Regions from separate parts of the Homo sapiens genome. Here regions 2, 3 and 4 are each linked to region 1. Evidence: promoter capture Hi-C in 16 types of primary human blood cells and fetal thymus (Javierre and others, 2016). All regions are on one chromosome and are shown on one strand. The core of a region is centred on a gene start or on the middle of the fragment in contact, and the rest is flanking DNA. Distances in the headings are between cores, read along the strand shown. Region 1 holds the start of PYGB (glycogen phosphorylase B). Region 2 overlaps ZNF337 (zinc finger protein 337). Region 3 overlaps CST7 (cystatin F). Region 4 overlaps APMAP (adipocyte plasma membrane associated protein).

The links. Contacts are between HindIII fragments. The CHiCAGO score rates a contact against its expected background, and 5 or more counts as called.
Region 2: a contact is called between a fragment that was not itself captured here and the fragment with the promoter of PYGB in region 1, in 1 of 17 cell types (monocytes). The highest score is 6.8, in monocytes.
Region 3: a contact is called between a fragment that was not itself captured here and the fragment with the promoter of PYGB in region 1, in 1 of 17 cell types (neutrophils). The highest score is 5.6, in neutrophils.
Region 4: a contact is called between a fragment that was not itself captured here and the fragment with the promoter of PYGB in region 1, in 6 of 17 cell types (monocytes, neutrophils, M2 macrophages and 3 more). The highest score is 9.1, in monocytes.

Annotation. Positions count from the first base shown.
Region 1 is chr20:25,246,334-25,249,646 of GRCh38, forward strand. PYGB (glycogen phosphorylase B) reads left to right here and starts at 1,752. Exons shown (of 20, transcript NM_002862.4): 1 at 1,752-2,088. The coding sequence starts at 1,846. RefSeq lists silencers at 784-1,037, 1,056-1,135, 1,316-1,505, 1,516-1,705, 2,016-2,395 and an enhancer at 1,786-1,865. The HindIII fragment of the contact is 3,937 bases long and covers 308-3,313 here.
Region 2 is chr20:25,686,989-25,690,301 of GRCh38, forward strand. All of the region lies in intron 1 of ZNF337 (zinc finger protein 337), which reads right to left. Among named protein-coding and RNA genes, the nearest start is that of ZNF337, 8.2 kb to the right of the region's middle. The HindIII fragment of the contact is 4,376 bases long and covers 1-3,313 here.
Region 3 is chr20:24,956,015-24,959,327 of GRCh38, forward strand. It overlaps CST7 (cystatin F), which reads left to right. Exons shown (of 4, transcript NM_003650.4): 2 at 1,273-1,445; 3 at 2,914-3,030. Among named protein-coding and RNA genes, the nearest start is that of CST7, 8.4 kb to the left of the region's middle. The HindIII fragment of the contact is 2,759 bases long and covers 553-3,311 here.
Region 4 is chr20:24,974,927-24,978,239 of GRCh38, forward strand. All of the region lies in intron 3 of APMAP (adipocyte plasma membrane associated protein), which reads right to left. Among named protein-coding and RNA genes, the nearest start is that of APMAP, 16 kb to the right of the region's middle. The HindIII fragment of the contact is 2,696 bases long and covers 170-2,865 here.

The DNA of each region.
Region 1 (3,313 bases), core at 502-3,001:
AGATACATTTTTCTGGGCTTGTGCAGTGGAGCAGGGCTTGGCTGGGGTGAACCTTGGCTGTTTCCCTTATTAGCTGTGTGGGCTTAGGGAAGAGTTAACTTCTCTGTGGCTCACCTTCTCCATTGTCAAGCGGGGGTAATAGCAGGCTATTTGCAGGGATCAGGAGTTAATACGTGTACACTGCAAGTAATGATCAATAAGTGTCAGCGCCTCCATTCTTTGCCAGGTGTGCACCACAGCTGGGGGATTAAACTTTACCACACCACAGCAGATAACATATTTGCATAACTTGCTTTTTGTCTTCTTAAGCTTTCCTTGAACTCAATTCCCCAGAGTGGTAGAAGTGGTCATAGGGCACTATCATTTTTATGACTTCTGAATTGCCAGATCACCCTCAGAGAGATTGCATCAGTGTTCGGAGCTTGCAGCCAAGCTCGACCCCACAGCCCTGCCATCTGTGCCCGAAGTTCGATCTTGTTGGCTCCAGAATCCCTAGGACATAGTGCAGGAGTGAATCCCGAGCTGGAGCTGGGTGGGCTGTGGGGTCATTCCAGATTGATTAACCTCCGACCTCTGAAGTCTGCAGCTGGAAGGGGCTCCAGGTAAGAAGATAACTTTGAAGCATCACACCAGGAAACCTACTGCACCTGGACTTTCATGACATTTCCTGCGGGCAATTTTTACCTCCACGAAATTCAGTAACCTTTGCAGCCCCTTCAGCCCAAGACCACCAGGAGCAAACCTGTGGTCCACAAAATCGGGTGTACTGACCCACTGCAATGAGGGAGCGCCTCCCAAGAACGAAGGGAAAGGCAGAGTTTGAAGGGGTTGAGGGAAGGCAGAGTTTAGGTGACCTTTACATGAAGCAGGGTTCCCACAGGCTGAGGCCAGCAGGACTGTGTTCCGCGGGGCCAAGTGTGGGAAGCTGTGTGCAGACGCCCCCTATCTGGAGCTGCAGCCTGGATTGGGATGACAGAGGCTAAGTCTCGGTTAGTGGCTGAGCTCCCCGGCCAGACGGGCATGTTTCCTTCTCCCTGCTGTAATCTCAAAGCGGACAGCGTCTGCCAGGTGGTTTCGGGAACAGGGTTTCTCCGAGGGCTAGGGGGCTGCGGTCCCTCCGAGGCGGGGTCGTGGTGGCATTTGGCTGTGGCTGCCTCGCGCCCTCGGGAACGGGCGTCTCCAGCTCGCTGGCAGCTGGTTTTCTCCACGTCTGTCATCGGCCTGGAGTGGCAAGCAAATAGCTGGTATTTTCAGAGCCGCCCTGCCCCGGACAGAGAAGACCGGGCCCAGCAGGCGTTGGTGGATGCCTTTCAAGCTGTAATCAGTTTCCCCGAACGTGTACCAGGTCTCGGCCACAGCCCGAGCCCAGCGCGCTCCCGCGGGGCACCTGGTGACCCGGTGCAGGGCGGGAGGGCCGGTCCCAGGAACCCGAGGGCCGGAGGGCAGGGCCCCCTTCCCGCACCGTCCCCGGGCTGGCAGGAGCGGCCACGACGGCACGCTCCGAGGCCCCGGGTCCCTTGCCCCCTCCAGTCGCTCCCACTTTCTGCCGGGCTTGCCCAACGAGGGGGCAAACACCACGCTCAGGTGGCGTGGACAGGTCGCTGCCGCCTCGGACTACACCAGAGATCTCAGCTATGAGCCTGGACGCCCGCCCCGCCCTCCCGAGGCCCCGCCCCGCCCCCCGAGGCCCCGCCCCGGCGCGGCGCGCAGGCGCGGTCCATCCCGCCCGCAGAGCCGCAGTGCCGGGCGCCAGAGCAGCGGCGCCAGAGCAGCTGCACCATCCCGGCGTTCGCGTGTGCCGCCGCTTTCCTCCTCCATCTCTTTTCCTCCGCCTCCGCCGGCGCGATGGCGAAGCCGCTGACGGACAGCGAGAAGCGGAAGCAGATCAGCGTGCGCGGCCTGGCGGGGCTAGGCGACGTGGCCGAGGTGCGGAAGAGCTTCAACCGGCACTTGCACTTCACGCTGGTCAAGGACCGCAATGTGGCCACGCCCCGCGACTACTTCTTCGCGCTGGCGCACACGGTGCGCGACCACCTCGTGGGCCGCTGGATCCGCACGCAGCAGCACTACTACGAGCGCGACCCCAAGGTGAGGCGCTGCCCCGCCCTGTGCGCCCGTGCCCGCTGAGAGGGCGCCGGTCCCGGAGCCGCGCCAGCGGGGGTCTCTGCGGGGCGGCCCGTCGGGCGTTACCTGCGCCCCTAGCCGGCCGGCGGCCAGGCACAGCCGACTGGGGAGTCGCCTGGAAGCCGCAGTCGGCGGGGCCCGGGCGTCCCCTGCGCAGGGCCGCGGCCACGGGTCCGCCCCACTGGGAGCCCGCGCCTGGCGGGGTCCGCCGTCCCCCGCAGATGATGCTGAGCCCGGGAGCCTGGCGGACGTTCCCGGTCTCTTTCTGGCCGTGCGCTTCCGCGCTGGCTGCAGAGCCGGTGCTCCCCGCCCCTGCCTCCAGCCACTCTTTGTTTTCCTGCAGCAGCCTGTGGGAGAAAATGGGACTGGAACCAGGCCTGGGCAGCCTTGTGGGTTGGAATGGGGTGAGCTCGGTAATCTGCAGGGAATTGTGAGACTTTTTTTTGTGTACGCTGCTTAGAAGAAAATCACTGAAGATGCCTGCTTCACGCAGGGAGGGGTACGAAGCTCAGAGATGGAGATGGAGCCCTCGAAGAAGGCTCTGTCTTAGAGGTTCCCACACCTCCCTTGGAGAAATTTGCTTGGGTTGAAGTTGACAGAGATCATCTTACTAATTGTTACTTTTTATATCTTGCAAAAATTTGTTTGAGTAGTGAAACAAAGTCACTGATTGTCCCCGTTACTCTTAACCATGTTTACTATGGGCCTGTGTTCTTGCTGTGTTTTTGGTATTCCTAAATATACATACACATTTTTAAAAAGTATAATGCACATACAGTTTTTTAGATTTTCTGTTTCATTCGTAAACATTTGTAACTTTTTCACTGATAAACAGCTTTGCAGGTCAATGGATAGGATGGTAGTTTTCAGTTTGATAGGTACATGGTAGTCTTGCACAGCCCCCTGTTGCCAGTTTTTTGTTGTTGTCGTTTGCTTTTAAACTCTTGACCATGGAGAATTGTCTTTCTACTACACTAACGTAGAGGGAGAACTGGTGAGGAAAAGACACACTTCCAGACCTGAAGCCACTTGGCAAAGATTTTACTTGCAGTGTACATCTAGGCAGTGAGCACTTGCTTTATGGATGGTATTTTAGAATATTTTTGTAGGGCATTAAGATATGTTTAATACGGTAATTGCTAAGAGATTGACTGCTTTTCCAAACTTATTCTGGGACATTCTTTTTTCT
Region 2 (3,313 bases), core at 399-2,898, 440 kb after region 1:
GGTTAATCTAAGGCAATGAGTGATCCAATGCAATTTGGATCCTGATTGCAACAAAGAATATGTGAGGAGTATTAACAGCCAGTGAAATCTGAACACTAATTGGATATTAGATTATCAAACATTAATTTTGTTGTTATAAAAGTATTTTGGGTTTTAAAAACATGAGCCCTTCCTTGTATACAAACTTTTGGAACATTCATGAGTGAAAATGATGTCTGGATGTGCTTAAACACCCCTTCTCACCCTCAAAAGTCAATTGAGCATTACTGGCCACACTTCATAATTTTTAGAACTGAATAATGTGTACTGGGTTCATTATATTATTTTCTCCGAATTTTTTGAAAAAAATTCCAGTAGAAATACAGGAAAAGAACTGTAAATTAAAGTGGTGGGTGTAATGATTTCATTAGAGTATTCACTATACTTTTAAGTGAATGTTTTGACTAAAAAAATAAAATTAAAAACACAGACATATAGGGGTGAAAAGAAGGAAATGTGAAGGAACAAAGATGCTATCATGTGGTGATTATGATGAACACAGCATACATCCACTAGCCAGTAACTTTGAGACAGAAGTGAACAAATACTATGGTGTTATGAAAAGAAAATAAAACTAGGGACCCCAGTCCACTCTGCCAAAAGGAAAAACATTAAGCTGAAAGCTAAGTCATGCAAGAAGCTGCCTTTCCTTTTGTTCTTAAGGAGATAGCTACAGATAAAACGTTAAATATCTCCATAGTAGCTACTCTATGCACACCGTATCTTATGTAAAGTGCTGATTTACTGAGTGTGAGATGAATGCATAACTATTTTCCTACCTGCTCCTTTTCTCTTGTCACAGGTGGATTACCACACCTTTCCTCTTTCCCCTCCAGCCTACTTTTCCTTTTTAAACAATGAGGCTCTCAAACTCATCTTTGGGGAAAGCCACTGGCCTCTTTCTGTGGCATGTCCTCAACTGTGGCAAAATAAACATCTAAATTGGTACTTGACTCTGATACTTTTTGGTTTACATGTAGTTGGAGAAGAAAAACAGTGAAATTTCTTCCTCTGACGGCAGTTGAAAGGTGATTTAAAACATTTTTGTTATTTCTTTCTATATACTTACATAAATAGTTTACCTTTCATGTCCCATCTGTGCTATCTTTACCTATTCCAAAGTCACAAAGATATTCCCCTACATTTACTCTTAGAAGTTTAAATATGTTGTTTTTGATGGTAGTATAAATATGTATTTCATTTTTTAACTGTTTGCTGCTAGGTTACAGAAATACAAGTGCTTTTTAAAAATACTGACCTTATTTTCTGAAGTTCCTAAACTGTGTGTTACTAGTATCTAGTTGTTTAACTATTCTTCCATGTACATACTCACATCTTCTGTGAATAAAAAATTTTTTTTTCTGTTTCAACGTTTATGCCTTTTATTCCTTTTTAATACCTTAACAGGTTAGCTAGTTATTCTAGGATAATGCTAAATAAGAGTGATAAGAATCAACATTAATGCTTGTTCCTGATCTTAGTGTGAACACACTTCACCATTAAATATGATGATTGCAGCCAGGCTGTCACACATAACCTTTGTTTCATTAAGGGAAATTCTTTCTATTCCTCATTTACTGAGAATTTTTACCCTGAATAGGTGTGAAATGTTATCAAGTATTTTTCTGCATTAAGATAGTAATGTAGGTTTTTCTCTTTTGCTCCCTGAAAGCAGTGAAAGGAAAATAAAAACGTTGGAACCCAAACCACTCTGCCAAAAGAAAAATATTAAGCTGAAAGCTGATTCATCCAAGAAGCTACCTTTCCTTTTGTTCCTAAGCGGAGAACTACAGATAGGTTAAGTAAGGGTAAGTATCTCTGCCGGGCGCGGTGGCTCACGCCTGTAATCCTAGCACTTTGGGAGGCTGAGGCGGGCCTCCTCCTCGTGGTCAGGAGATTGAGACCGTCCTGGCTAACACCGTGAAACCCGTCTCTACTGAAAATACAAAAAAATACAAAAAATAGCCGGGAGTGGTGGCGGCGCCTGTAGTCCCAGCTACTCGGGAGGCTGAGGCAGGAGAATGGCGTGAACCCGGGAGGCAGAGCTTGCAGTGAGCCGAGATCGCGCCACTGCGCTCCAGCCTGAGCAAGAGTGAGACTCCGTCACAAAAAAAAAAAAAAAAAAAATTAGTCGGGTGTGGTGGCGAGCGCCTGTAGTCCCAGCTACTCAGGAGTCTGAGGCAGGAGAATGGTGTGAACGTGGGAGGCAGAGCTTGCAGTGAGCGGAGACCGTGCCACTGCACTCCAGCCTGGGCAACAGAGCAAGACTCCGCATCAAGAAAAAAAAAAAGTTAAATATCTCCACAGGTTGCTTACTCTATGTTCACTCTATCCTCGGTTTTTTGGGAACAAACTCTATTTGGCTAGAATATATCATCCTTTTCATGTATTGCTGGATACTACTTGTCCATATTTTGGTGAGAATTCTTGACTATTTTCCTCTGGAATGATTACATGTAAGGGCACATGAGAACTCTTGTTGAAATGTTCTGTATCTTGATTGAGGTGATAAGTGACCTGTGTATACTTTAAAGAGTCAAAACTCATTATACAGTTAAAAGCAGTGCTTCTTACGGTATGCAAGTTACACCTCAACACTGATTAAAAATCCTCTCAGAGATCAAGTATATATGGGTAAAATAACAAGACATCTGGATTTGTTTGAAATACTTTGGCACATAAACAGGGGGAAGGGATAAATCTAACAGAACTACCCATGGTTTTAAAATGATCAAATCTGGATGAAGGCAACATGGGGATTCCTATTACCATCTCCCAATTTTGCTACCCATTTGAGATTTTTCATAACACTAGTTTACAGAAAAAGCATTAATCATATTGCTAATTCTATGCTTACCAAAAAATTGGCTAAAATAATCTTATAGGAGCTAACTTCATTTGAAAATACTCAAAAGTCCCCAGCATTCAAGAAACTGCCCAATCAAGAAAAAGCCACATTAAAAACAGAAGGCAGCTGGCTGGGCACAGTGGCTTATTCCTGTAATCCCAGCACTTTGGGAGGCTGATGCATGTGGATCGCTTGATCCCAGGAGTTCGGGACCAGTTTGGGCAACATGGCAAAGGCTCATCTCTACAAAAAATATAAACATTAGCTGGATGTGGTGGCACGTGCCTGTAGTCCTAGCTACTCCTGGCTTGAGCCCAAGAGGTTGAGGCAGCAATGAGCCTTGAATATGCCACTCCACTCCAGCTTGGGCAACAGAGCAAGACATAGTCTCAAGAAAACAAAACAACAACAACAACAAAAACAAAA
Region 3 (3,313 bases), core at 682-3,181, 290 kb before region 1:
ACGGGACAGCCATTTGCCAGGTGGCCTCCCTTCACAATGGAGACTCTTTACCGGGATGGGGCGACAATCCCAAGGCCACAGAACTTCCAGTCCCATGCTTCTCTGCCCACTCCCGGCGCTGCACCACCCAGCCTGGGGGTGCCACGTGGTGACCAGAAACCTCGTCATCCTGTCTACCCTTGGTGGGGTCTGGTGTGCACCCACAGACATCCAGGACCCAGGAAAGGCCTCTTGCAGACCTCACACAGCAGTGGGAATGGCCTCCTCTGGGGCCCTCGCTCTGAGTTGACACTGACGTCCTGGCAAGGCCTCCCTGCAGTGCCCAGCTATGAAGCCTGTCCCCTCCCATTCCCCAATCACCCTGCCCTCAACACCCTGGGGCCCAGCTTTCCATCCAGTCCATAGCAGGCACAAAGACGCACGTCCTGCAGCCTCAGGCACAGATACTAGGGGACATGACTGTGGGGGAGGCCCCCGATGCTGCTTCCCCATCTTTTATCCAAATATAGCCCTCCTTGGTACAGGAAGGGCAGGCCTCCCCGACCCCAACGAAGCTTGGGGACACAGTGCACTGTCACTCATAGGAGTGAAAAAGACTGTCCCTGGAAAGTCAGGAGGCAGCGCAGGGGTACCAAGTGCTGCAGGCTGCCAGGAGGGGTGCCCTCCTGGGGGCTGGGCCTGAGACTGAGAGCCAGGCGGGCAAAAGGTCTTGAGACGAGGACGGCGCCATCTCCTTCCGGTGGGAGGCACTACCTCCATCTACCGCCCAGAGGGCCAGGCTGGGGTTGACTTTCCCTACATCCTAAGGCTACATCCCGTACTGAGGATCTCACCTGTGGGACATGTTCCGCTTTTAACACTTACGTTGGAAATAACCCTGGGTTCTGAAAGTGGGGGACAGGTTCATTGCACCCCCTGGCACCTGGTCCTCAGCTCTGAAAATGGAGCAATAAATGCACTGCAGGGGTGTCGGGGGGGACAGGTGAGGGGGCAGGTGAGGGGGGCAGGTGAGGGGAGCAGGTGAGAGGGGGCAGGTGAGGGAGAACAGGTGAGGGGGCAGGTGAGGGGGGCAGGTTAGGGGTGGGTAGGGTGGGGGCAGGTAAGCAGGGACAGGTGACAGGGGTAGGTAAGAGGGGGAGCAGGTGAGGGGTGGGTAGGGCCAGGACACACACGCCAGCAGAGAACTGAGCATCACAGAGGCATGAGGCGTGACACCTGGACTGAAGGCCCCACTAACATCAGTGTTCTTGTCTGGCTCTTTGTCTCTTTCAGATACTTGTTCCCAGGACCTTAACTCACGTGTGAAGCCAGGATTTCCTAAAACAATAAAGACCAATGACCCAGGAGTCCTCCAAGCAGCCAGATACAGTGTTGAAAAGTTCAACAACTGCACGAACGACATGTTCTTGTTCAAGGAGTCCCGCATCACAAGGGCCCTAGTTCAGGTAACGGTCTGGGTTCTGGTCACATATCACGGACACCCCTAGGAAGCCGAGCTGCTACAACGCGACACCTAGGAGAGCAGGGCGGATATAATGTGAAGTCCCTGCTGAGTGCAGAGCTCTGAGCAGAAAGCAGATGCACAAGGGGTGGGAGTGGACAGCAGCAGCTGAGGCCAGCATCCCCCAGGGCCAAGCGCAAAGGTTACACAAAGCACACGGCTCCTGGGTGGTTACCAGGCCCCTGGCCCAGAGCCTACTAGGCATGGGGTAAGGAGGTGCCAGGGCCCTAATGGGGCTCCTGAGGCAGGCGCCAAGGCTGATGGGGGAGAAAGCCGCTGTCCGAGGAGCTGCCCCTGCTGGGACCAGGGTCCTCACCCGGCCTCACCCCTCACGTGCCCTGCAGCCCAGAGGTGTCTTTGCCACTTTCCCCCTGGAGTGCTCACTCACATCCCAGAGTCCAAGAGCTCTGCCCAAGCCACTGCCCTTTCCCTGACTCATTCCTACTGCGCCCGCTCAGCACCCTCCCTCCTAGAGGACCCTTGTCTGTGTCCTGAGAACACCCACTTGCTAATGTGGGATGCAGGCTGTGGATGACACCCACCACCGTGTGCTGGTGCCTGTAAGGGGCAGAAGCAGCCCTGTCCAAGGCAGTCTTCACAGTGTTCATGGTTATGCTGGGTCACAGGGAGGGGTGATTTTTATAACCTAATTATTTTTGACAATTGCAAACTTGTGAAGGACAGCATGTTTTCATATGAGAATCGTGGGTGTGTAGCCAGGGTCCTCGCTCTGCAGCCTGGCCTCAGGGACAGGGGATCTTCCCTGGGTGATGCAGGCCCTCCCTCCTTCTCCGGGTAGGCCAGTGGGATGCCCTGGTTCTGAGTCCTTGGGGTTCTCTGGGAGGGGACTTGGAGGTTGTCTCTCTCTAGCTTGGTGATATTGGGGACAACGTAATTCCCCTAAAGCTGAGACTAAAACCTGAGGAATTTTTCTTCAACTCCTCTAAGACCACAAATGAGAATGAACAAGGCGGCTGCCATATCCAAGTGGAGAAGGGCTGTCCAGAAACTCAAAACTCCCGACCCCAGGAATGGAGAGGGGAAGCCCGCAGACCCCAGGCCTGACACAGAGGCCACAAGAAACAGCCATCATGGGGCTGGAGTGAGGGCTGCAGGGCGGGCCCAGCAGGGCATGCAGGAGACCTAGTGTGACGTCCCTCCTGAGTGCAGAGCTCTGGCCAGAAAGGAGACATCTGTCTCAGGAAGGGGCACAAACCCAGCACGGGGCAGGGAGGGGAGTGGGAGGGGTCTGCAGGCTCTGCCGTAAGCCCGAAGCATTGCCCCAAGATGCTGGCCCACTTCCCTTCTCCTCGGTGGGCACCTGCACCACTGTCTTGAGGCCCTGCTTCCTAGTGGAGAAGCCTGCCCTCCCTCCCCTGTGCCCAGTAACCCAGTCCCTTTGCTCCCTCCAGATAGTGAAAGGCCTGAAATATATGCTGGAGGTGGAAATTGGCAGAACTACCTGCAAGAAAAACCAGCACCTGCGTCTGGATGACTGTGACTTCCAAACCAACCACACCTTGAAGCAGGTAAAGCAGCAGGCCCTTCTCTCAGATGTGCCCTCTCTTCCCCAGCCCACTCCCTCCCAGGACTGTGAAAAACACCGTCACCACGTCTCTAACGCAGCGCCCCAAACCTCACCCCTGAGGAAGCCAGGCCTCCCAGACTCCCGCACGACTGAGGATCCGGGAGAACAGGAGGTAGAGCCTGTGCCAGGAGCTCCTCAGATGACATCCTCCCGTCCCAGAGGCGGAGACACAGCTCTGGAAGAGCGTCCTGGGGTGCGAGTGGAGAGGGTTAGAGTAAGAAAAG
Region 4 (3,313 bases), core at 268-2,767, 270 kb before region 1:
CATGATCATATCAACAGATACAGAAAAAAACATCTAGTAACATCCAACACCCATTCATGATTAAAAACTCTCAGCAAGCTGGGAGTAGAGGGGAAACTTTCTTAACTTGATCAAGAATATCTATAAAAAAATCTACATATAACATCATACTTATGGATGACAAACTAGAAGCTTTCCTGCTAAGATCAAGAACAAGGCAAAGATGCCCCTATCACCACTCCTTTTCAGTATCATACTTGAAGACCTAGCTAATGCAGTAAGACATGAAAAGGAAACAAAAGGTATACAGATTGAGAAGAAAGAAATAAAACTTTCTTTGTTTGCAAGTGACATAATTGTCTAGATAGAAAATCTGAAAGAATCAACAACAACAAAAAACCCTCCTGGAACCAAGCAATTATAGCATGGTTGCAGGATATTGCAAGATATTGACTCACCTTCCTTTATACTAACAATGAACAAATGGAATTTGGAATTGAAAACACAATACTATGTACATTAGCATCCAAAAGATTGGCATACTTAGGTATAAATATAATATAATATACACGAGGTCTATATGAGGAAAACTAGAATATTCTGATGAAAGAAATCAAAGAACTAAATAAATGGAGAGATATTCCATGTTCATGGACAGGAATACTCAATATTGTCAAGATGTCAGTTTTTCCCAACCTTAATCTATAGATTCAATGCAATCCCAATCAAAATCCCAGCAAGTTATTTTGTAGATACAGACAAATGAATCCTAAAGTTCATATGGAGAGGGCGAAGACTCAAAATATCCAATACAATATTGAAGGAAAAGAATAAAGTCAGAGGACTGAAACTACTCAACTTCAAGATTCTCTATAAAGCTACAGTAATCAAGACAATGTGGTATTAGCAAAAGAATAGAAAAATAAATCAATAGAACAGATAAAATTTTTAGCCCAGAGACAGACCCACATAAATACAATCAACTGATCTTTTGACAAAGGAGTAAAGGCAATGCATAATGGAGAAAAGACAGTGTTTTCCACAAATGGTGCTGGAACAAATTTGTTTGCATCCACATGCAAACAAATAAATCTAGACACAAACCTTATACCCTTCACAAAAATGGAATTCAAAATGGATCATAGACCTAAATATAAAATACAAAACAAATTCCTAGAACATAGGAGAAAATCTAGGTATGATGATGAATTTTTAGATATAACACCTAGGGTATGATGATGAATTTTTAGATATAAAACCAAGGTGAGATACATGAAGAAATAATTAATAAGTGAAACTTCATTAAAATTAAAAACTCTTGCTCTACAGAAGATACTGTCAAAAGAATGAGAAGCCACAGACTGGAGAAAATATTGGCAAACAACATGTCTGATAAAGAACTATTATCCAAAATACACAAACAACTCTTAAAACTCAACAATAAGAAAATGAACAACCCAATTACAAAAATGGGCAAAAGGCCTGAACAGACACATCACCAAGAAGATATACAGATGGCAGGTAGGCATATGAAGATATTCCACATCAAATATCATCAGAGAAATGCAAATTAAAACAACGAGACACCACTATACACCTATTAAAAGGGCCAAAATCCAAAACACTGACACCACCAAATGCTGGCGAGGACATGGAGCATCAGGAACTCTCACTAATTGTTAATGGGAAGGCAAATGGTACAGCCACTTTGGAAACGCTTGGTGGTTTCTTACAAAACTTAACTCTTACCATACAATCCAGCAATTATGCTTTTCGGTATTTACCCAAATGAGCTGAAAACTTAGGTCCACACAAAAACCTGCCCACAGATGTTTATACCAGCCTTATTCATAACTGCCAAAACTTAGCAGCAACCAAGATGTACTTCAGTAGGTAACTAAACTGTGGCACATCCATACAATGGAATATTACTCAGTGCTAAAAAGAAATGAGCTATCAACCCATGGAAAGACATGGAGGAATTTTAAATAAATGCATACTACTAAGTGAAAGATGCCAATCTGAAAAGGCTACATACTGTATGAGTCCAGCTACATAACATTCTGGAAAAGGCAAAACTATGGAGATGGCAAAAAGATCAGTGGTTGCCATGGGTTAAAAGAAAAGGGTGGAATGAACAGGCAGAGCAAAGAGGATTTTCAGGGCAGTGAAAACACCCTGTAAGATACCATAACAGTGGATACATGGCATTTGTCCAAACCCATAGAATGTATAAAACCAAGAGTGAACCCTACCGTAAACTACAGACTCCGAGTACTATTGACGTATTGATGTGAGTACATCACTTGTAACAAACTTACCCTTGTGGTGGGGGATGTTGATCATGTGGGAGGCTGTGCATGGCATGTGTGCAGAAAAAGTATTTGACGAAATGCAACACCCAATCGTAATAAAAACTCTTTTTCAGAAAATCTCTGTACCTTCTGCTCAATTTTGCTGTGAACCTAAAACTGCTCTTAAAAATAAAGTCTACTTAAAAACAAATAAAATAAAGCCTGCTATAGTTGGTGGTTACTCTCTCCCAGCACTCCCCAGAGCTAGTACCTCCTTCCACTGTCAGCAACCTGCCAGCCAGCCCCCAGGACAGCTTCCAAATGAGGTGGCAGAGACAGCAGTGGCAGGTCCCTGCGGCTCACACCCACCAGAGAGGACCCCACTGTGCCTGGCCAAGAAATGTCACCAGCTCATCAAAGAAAGAGAAAAAGCTGGGACCTGGTGACAAAGTACAATGAGAAGTAACCCAGTGAAAAAGAAAAAGACAGGAAAGTGCTCTCTTTGGGAGGTAAGATCATTGGTTTGCACTTCAACTGCTGTTAAGTTTCAGTTTTAAAGAGCAAGATTTGATTTTTCACCAAAAAAAGCTAAAGCTTTTAAAATTTACACAAATAAATGCCAATGTCTTTTTAAGAGAAATACAAAGTTCTATCATGATATTTACTCTTCTTGAAACAATTTTGACTTTGACAGCCAAGAAAACAAACCAACTGCAGAAATGGACCAGTCCTTGGGGCCTGTGTCAAATAACAGGGCCCAGGCAAGAGAAGCTGGTCAAACGTCACTAGAAGAGAGGCCACTGACCGGCCTTGAGAGCACAACAGAAGCACCCTGTGTGCACATATCCACAGCCACCCACTGCCTGGAGAACAGTGTGCTTCAGAATAACAAGCGGCACTTCCAAAGAAGCTGCTCAGCAAGCCCATACCAGATTAAGTTTTAAACTATCTGTGACTATCTGTGCCTTCCCAATACTAAACTTAATTCTCATTTTAACAAACAGAAAATGCCTTGTTCAAGGTTGCTAGAGATGCAAGTA